Regions from separate parts of the Homo sapiens genome. Here region 1 is linked to region 2. Evidence: promoter capture Hi-C in 16 types of primary human blood cells and fetal thymus (Javierre and others, 2016). All regions are on one chromosome and are shown on one strand. The core of a region is centred on a gene start or on the middle of the fragment in contact, and the rest is flanking DNA. Distances in the headings are between cores, read along the strand shown. Region 1 overlaps MKKS (MKKS centrosomal shuttling protein). Region 2 holds the start of ESF1 (ESF1 nucleolar pre-rRNA processing protein).

Evidence for each region. Contacts are between HindIII fragments. The CHiCAGO score rates a contact against its expected background, and 5 or more counts as called.
Region 1: a fragment that was not itself captured here is called in contact with the fragment with the promoter of ESF1 in region 2 in 2 of 17 cell types (total CD8 T cells and non-activated CD4 T cells); the score reaches 10.2 in total CD8 T cells.

What each region holds. Positions count from the first base shown.
Region 1 is chr20:10,421,591-10,425,265 of GRCh38, reverse strand. All of the region lies in intron 1 of MKKS (MKKS centrosomal shuttling protein), which reads left to right. All of the region lies in intron 1 of LOC128706665, which reads left to right. All of the region lies in intron 1 of LOC128706666, which reads left to right. Among named protein-coding and RNA genes, the nearest start is that of MKKS, 11 kb to the left of the region's middle. The HindIII fragment of the contact is 8,150 bases long and covers 1-3,675 here.
Region 2 is chr20:13,782,272-13,786,198 of GRCh38, reverse strand. It overlaps ESF1 (ESF1 nucleolar pre-rRNA processing protein), which reads left to right and starts at 1,280. Exons shown (of 14, transcript NM_001276380.2): 1 at 1,280-1,319; 2 at 3,016-3,695. The coding sequence starts at 3,059. NDUFAF5 (NADH:ubiquinone oxidoreductase complex assembly factor 5) reads right to left here and starts at 1,171. Exons shown (of 11, transcript NM_024120.5): 1 at 909-1,171. The coding sequence starts at 1,130. RefSeq lists enhancers at 261-950, 946-1,235. The HindIII fragment of the contact is 9,427 bases long and covers 1-3,927 here.

The DNA of each region.
Region 1 (3,675 bases), core at 982-3,481, 3.4 Mb after region 2:
TCTTAAAAATGATAATGGAGATTTATATTCTTTGCAAGAGGGATTACAAAACAGCATGTGTATCATGATCACATTTTTGTTACACCCAAAAGATTTTAGCTCTCTTTTCCTTGTTTCTATATTTGCTAACTTTAAAAAGTAAGGTTATACTATACTATATTTATTAGAAAAGAACAGTAATGCTAATTTTCTTTCTTTCTTTTTTTTTTTTTGAGACGGAGTTTAGCTCTTGTTGCCTAGGTGGGAGTGCAATGGCATGATCTTGGCTCACTGCAACCTCCGCCTCCCAGGTTCAAGTGATTCTTCTGCCTCAGCCTCCCGAGTAGCTGGGATTACAGGCGCCTGCCACCACACCAGCCTAATTTTTTGTATTTTTAGTAGAGACAGGGTTTCACCATGTTGGCCAGACTGGTCTCAAACTCCTGACCTCAGGTGATCCACCTGCCTCGGCCTCCCAAAGTGCTGGGATTACAGGCATGAGCCACCGTGCCCTGCTCTAATTTTCATTTTGTAAAAAACCACAGAGGAACTAAGAAGAAAAAAAGTGCTAAATTTAAATTGTATCCCCAAAATATGTTTGATTGTAAGTAAAAGCTCTGCAAGAGTTTATAAACAAAATAAATAACACATTACCTCGCTAACTACCATATCAAATATAAAATTTGAAAACTATTTTTTTTTTTGTAAAACTAGCAATGAGCTTTGCTAGTAAGGTATAGTAAGGTCTAATGTGTCTTGCCCTGAGAAGAGGTTATGCAGGCAATAGAATACATCCAATGTACTGGAGATTTTTCACTATTAAGTGAAAGAAATGAAGTAGTTTAAAGTTATATGCCAATGTCATTTTTTAAAAATATATGTTTTTTCTTTTAAAATAGAGATGAAGTCTCACTGTATTGCCCAGGCAGTCTCGAACTCATGGGCTCAAGCAGTCCCCCTGCCTGAGCCTCCTAGAGTGCTGGGGTAACAGGTGTGAGCCACTGTGCCTGGCCTTTTTTTTTCCTTTTTATTTAATATATATTTTTTTCTTTTAAAATAGAGATGAGGTCTCATTATATGCCAATGTCATTTTAAAGTGCTAATTCCATCTTGCTCAGTGAAAAGGGACTATTATATGTACAGTGTGATACTTATTGTTTTTATGTGAATTAAATGAAAACTCTAAAAATAGTTTGTAACGTGAAAAGCCCTTCCATACTGATCCTAATCATTTCCCAAGCCTCTCAAAGGACAACAGAATTATCTGTCAGAAAATAGTTACTTGCTCTCTCACCCCCATTAGCCAAATCAATATATGAGATATGGAGAATTTGAGGAAGTGGGGACATGTAGATGTTCAGTAAACATTAAAGCAATTAATCATTAAATCAGTCTACATCATTTACTAACCAGGAAATACTGTACTGAGTCTCAGTGATGTTTAGCAAATAGAGTTTTCAGTTAAAATAGATACTGATTTCCAGGTTTAACTAAACCTAAATCTAGAAAAAGATTCATCGATCCTTAAGTTATCCTAATGGAAAGAGTAATAGACTGTTAAGCACAATATACATAAAATTGAGCATTTCTTTTATCTTTAACTGGGAGATGACCTAAAGATTCACTAAGTATTATAGGGAGCTAACCCTATATAATTTTCACTCTTCTCAAAGAGGGTTCATACTATGTCATTACATGCTGTTAACCACTTTGCTGGAGAGAATAGTACAACACTTCCCCAAACATTAGTGTTACAGATTGTCATTTAATTTGTTCCTAATTTTAGTTCTTGAGTTACAAATCTCAATTTTATTATTACATCCTTTTATCCTATCCAGTCTCTTTTTTGCTTTTGGTTTGTTTTTTTGAAACGATCGCATTTCATCACCTGTCCTGGAGTGCAATGGTGTTATCTCAGCTCACCGCAGCCTCAGCCTCCCAAGGTCCAAGCGATCCTCCTACCTCAGCACCCCCCACGCAGCTAGAACTACAGGCGTGCGCCACCATGCCCAGCTAATTTTTGTATTTTTTGTAGAAACGGGTTTTGCCACGTTGCCTAGGCTCAAGTGATCCGCCCACCTCAGGCTCCCGAAGTGTTAGGATTACACTTTTGTGAGCCACTGCACCTGGCCCTAATCTCTTTTTATAAGCTAGGGTTTTTTTTCCTTGAGTTTATAGTTCAGAAAAAAGCTGACAAATGTTGAATTATGTTAATGATCATGGAGAAGTAAATGGTGAATGGCAGAAATGGCTCTTAAAAGTAATGTGACTTGAAGGGCCGGGCGCAGTGGCTCACACCTGTAATCCCAGCACTTTGGGAGGCCGAGGCGAGCGGATCGCAAGGTCAGGAGATCGAGACCATCCTGGCTAACACGGTGAAACCCTGTCTCTACTAAAAATACAAAAAATTAGCCAGGTGTGGTGGCGGGCACCTGTAGTCCCAGCTACTCGGGAGGCTGAGGCAGGAGAATGGCGTGAACCTGGGAGGCGGAGCTTGCAGTGAGCTGAGATCGCACCACTGCACTACAGCTTGGGTGACAGAGCAAGACTCTGTCTCACAAAAAAAAAAAAAAGATAATATAACTTGATAACCTCATGTTGAGGGGAATAGAGGTGCCAAAGTCACCTTAAGTATTGAGACTGGATATAAATAACAGTATCTTCTAGGCCTTTAGTTAAGGTGTTTGCAAACAAGAATGCCATATGTCAATCAACACAGGCCAGCTGACCTTTGGTGCAGCCTCTGTCCCTCCTATAAGTAAGTAGCCCTTAATAGAATTCTTCCCTCCTTACTCTAAATTCCTCCCCCAGTTATTTTATTGTACCCTTAAATTCCCAAAGGCTTTTGCCTTTGGACTTCACAATGAAATTTAATTATGATACAGTTATTTGTAATTGATTCCCTCTAAAAATGGAACATAAGCATGTCAATAAAAGGTGTATTCTCTAAAGGTTACAAAAAGTATATAGTATACCACAGTACGTTAGAAAAGGAAAAGGCCATAAAATACTTTCATTTACAAAGCAGGTCGTGTTTCCTCTATCTAGTAATTAAAATTTTGCCACAAAGTCCTTATAAAATATGAATTGAGACCTTTGGGAGAAATGATTTATAATGCTAAGAATAACATGTTCATAGCTATAAGATAACATCTTTTATTATTTTTAGTATGTATACACAGAACACAGATGGTTCAGACTATTTAACTCAGTACTATTGTGTTTTGGTCTTAAAAGGGGGAATAAGAAATTCTTTTCAGACCTTTTTCTAATGGCATTTAGACAAAAATAAAGTAATTTAGGAGATTTCATGGTACTAAAACTCAGAGATGCAATTGAGCCAAGTTCATAGCATGTCTCATAGATGGTGGAGCAGTCCTTATTAAGAGTATAAGGAGTCTTTAGAGGTTGTCCAGATTCAAGTTCCCAAACCCAACAGATCATCAAACATAGCATCTTTCTGGGCCCTACTTCCATCCTTTCCAAATTTAAAATATATATATATATATTTTAAAAGCTAACTAACTTTGTAACTCCAGGCAACTGTCTAGCCCCAGTTTCTTTGTCTAAACTAGGTCGATAACCCTGTAAGTTAGGGTTTTCTAGTGATTCAGGGCAAACACTCTAAAATGCAGTAGTTTTGCACATAAATGTGGAAATGGCATTACATTCATTCTGATTTGTAGCGTTCAAGCC
Region 2 (3,927 bases), core at 31-2,530:
TTTGTTGCATTATACTTGACTCCAACTTTGTTCCACTCCTGAATAAAAATTTACTGAGGCCTGAACTTGAGAATGCGTGTCCTGAAAGTAGAAACCCTCAGTCTCTGGCTCACCTGGGCAGGGAGAAAGGTTTCTCAAACGAGCCAAGACAAATCAGAAATCTTAATTTGATCTTCCTAAAACATAAGTCAGATCACTCCACTGATTAAAACAAGAGCTTCACATTCCCCTAGAGCAGTGCTGACCAAAAATCATGAGAGCCACATATGTAATTTCAAATTTTCTAGTAGCCACATAAGAAAAAAAGTAAAAACGAGAGAAATTTTAATTGAAAAATTTAAATTTATATTTAATATATTTCATGTGACCCAATATATCAAAAATAATCACTGCAACATGTAATCAATATAAAAGCTCTTAATGAGCTATTTTACATCCTTTTTTCATACTAAGTCACTATACTCGTGTGTATTTTACAACACATCTCAATTGGACTAGTCACCTTTCAAGTGTTCAACAGCCACATGTGTGGCCGGCAGTTACCATACTGGCTGGACAGTGCAGATACAGAAGAAAACCCCAAGTCCCTATCCTGCAAGGCCCTGATGATTTGGGTCCTCCTAACCTTCTCTCCCACTCTCTCCCTCTCCGGAGCTTCACTGGAGGCCTCTATAAGGTCCTTTCAGCCTCAAGGACGTTGCCGAAATGAATGCATGAATGAATGAAAGCATGTTACAAATATCCGAGGCCAGGCCTTGCGTGATTACAGTAGAGGCCGAAAGAGGCAGGGCTGCTGGTCAAGGTCAGACGGCTAGGTGGGGTGAGCTCGGGGCCTAGCCGGAACTAGCGGAGAGGAAAACAAGCCTCCGCGTCGCCCGCCCCGCCGCCCCGCCGCCCCGCGGGCTCACCTCCTCCTTCAGGTAGTCAAATTTGGTCGGCTCGGGCTGCCGGGCTGCCCAGTTCTTCTGTTTCCTTTTCAAATCCCGGTCGAAAATATTCAGGGTTCTGGGCGAGGTGCTACCGCGGGGAGAGACACCAGAGGTGACTTCCCTACGGCCAAGATTCTCCGCTGGGACCCTCGCCGCCCAAGGTCGCCGACATAAGCGCCAGAGCCCTGCCGGCCGCAGCATCTCCAGCTGCGACCCCAATTGCCGGCGCTTTTTGTGCGCATGCGCCAGCGCGGCTTTTGTGTCTACTCCAAAGATCTTCTCGAGGGAACGTGCAAGTAGTTTGGCCTAGTTCGCTTGCCATTACGGCGGAGCGTCACGCGGAGGATTGTGGGTGTGAGCCCCACGTGAGGCTTGGTAGGACTGCGGACGGTGAGTGGGGATGGACTGGAGTTGAAGAGCTCGAGATGAAGGGCTTGAGGGCGTGTGTGTGTGTGGCGCGGGGAAAAAACTAGTCTCTAACAGGATCTCTTTCGGATCTGCGAGGGGTTTTGCCCCTTCCTCCTGAGCCTTTTTCGGTCTCATTCTTCAGTCTTCATCGATCCTTTTCAGGGTCGCTTCTCGAATCAGTCTGTTAGCTGCCCCCCTGCGGTACAGGAGGTGGAAAGGAGACCCTAGTTCAGGGGCCAGCCCTGTGTTCTCCGAATTAGAGAGCGGGCAGAAGGGGAGGGTGGGCTACGGGGATGCGGGCGCGTGTCGGGAGTGAGGTCCGGTCGCCTTCCCCTCTCTCGGATTATCTGACATATAATGAGTGCTTTCCTTCTAAACATTTACAATACATGCAGTACTTCTCCTGGTTGAGGTGGTACCTACCTCGTAAGATTGCTCAGAGAGTTAAGTGCTGTAATACATCGAAAAATGTGTAAATGCACCAGCGATAGCTTCCTTTTTTTTCCTAGTTAGTGTAATTAAAAGGACTTGATTTTTAAATAAGAAATATTGCCCTTTTAATCATTTTGGGGGGGGGTTGCTTAATAATCAACGACTTTTGGCTCTTTGCAAAATTCCCATCCAGAGATGCTAAACCATTGGAGACTTTTCACAAGGGAACAATATTAATTTATACACACATATGTATATGTTCTAGTATGTTTTGGGGGAATGAGCTCACTTGGGCCTTCATCACTGGTAGAATCAGATATTATAGAAAGAAGTGATATTTATTAACTGGTGTGAGACTTTACCTGGAGACTCAAATTTACTTTTTATTTTTAAACTTTTTATTACTTTTGAAGGATGATCGAATTTAAAAAGGAAACTTTCTTAGCTAAACCTGAGTTGATTTTGGTCTGTTTAGTTAGAATGCTAGTCTTACAGAACTAAAGGCTGTTTGTTGGCAGTAGCCGGAGATAAGGAGTAAGCAGAATGAGACCAGAATGTGAAGAAACAAATGAGGCCAACGGAGGCTAGGGAATCTTTCTTTCTTACTTTTTTTTGGTAGACAGGGTCTCACTCTGTTGCCCCAGCTGGTGTGCTGTAGTGCCGTTAGGCTCACTCTAGCCAAGACCTCCCGGGTGGAAGTGATCCTCTTGCCTTAGCCTCCAAAGTAGCTGGGACTACAGGCGCGCGCCACCATGCCGGGCTCATTTTTGTATTTCTTGTGGGGATTCACCATGTTACCCAGGCTGGTCCTGAACTCCTGGGCTCAAGTGATCCGCCCGCCTTGGCCTCCGAAAGTGCTGGTGAGCCACCGCACTCGGCCTAGGGAATCTTAACTACATTTGCCTTCAATTAGTAACACATACTGGTATACAAATAGAAATTCTAAGTGAGAGCAATGGATGAATAAACATTTGTTCCCCTCCATAAAGCCCTGGGATTCTGCTTTGTCTACCTTAAGTTTATTTCTCTAAATGATCTGTCATGGAAAGAGGATATTTTGGTATGTTTCTGCTTTTTTGCATGTGACCCAGAATACGTTGGAGAGATGAAATTAGACTTGTTACCTCTATTTTATGTACACTTAACTTAGAATATATTAACTTAGAATATATTGTGAATGTGTTTTAAAACATTTAATTATTGTACTAACCATTATTACCATTAAAACATTTGTTTTATTTTTCAGTATTTGTTTTCTTCAAGCATTTGGTCGAGATTAAGAATTAAAAATGTCATCCAAACAAGAAATAATGAGTGACCAGCGGTTTAGACGGGTTGCAAAGGACCCGAGATTTTGGGAAATGCCAGAAAAGGATCGAAAAGTCAAAATTGACAAGAGATTTCGAGCCATGTTTCATGACAAGAAGTTCAAGTTGAACTATGCCGTGGATAAAAGAGGGCGCCCCATTAGCCATAGCACTACAGAGGATTTGAAGCGTTTTTACGACCTTTCAGATTCTGATTCCAATCTCTCTGGTGAAGATAGCAAAGCATTGAGTCAAAAGAAAATAAAGAAGAAAAAAACCCAGACTAAAAAAGAAATCGATTCAAAAAATCTAGTTGAGAAAAAGAAAGAAACCAAGAAGGCTAATCACAAGGGTTCTGAAAATAAAACTGATTTAGATAATTCTATAGGAATTAAAAAAATGAAAACCTCATGTAAATTTAAGATAGATTCAAACATAAGTCCGAAGAAGGATAGCAAAGAATTTACACAAAAAAATAAGAAAGAGAAAAAAAACATTGTTCAACATACTACAGACTCTTCTCTCGAAGAAAAACAAAGGACATTAGACTCAGGCACCTCTGAAATTGTGAAATCTCCCAGAATCGAGTGTTCTAAGACAAGAAGAGAAATGCAATCAGGTAGGTTGGAAAAAATTAGAGATTCTTGGGTGTTACATTATTTATTTTTATACTGATCTTTCAAAAATGTAAACACATTAATAAGTATTTTCATAGTATTATGGAATGGTCAAATGCTTATCTGGAAATACAAAGCTATAAAAGAAATATGCAGTGATTATTAATTTTTGATGTGGTGCTAGAAGACAGACATGAAAATTTGAATCTTGAAGTTAAACAGTGATTTTGATTA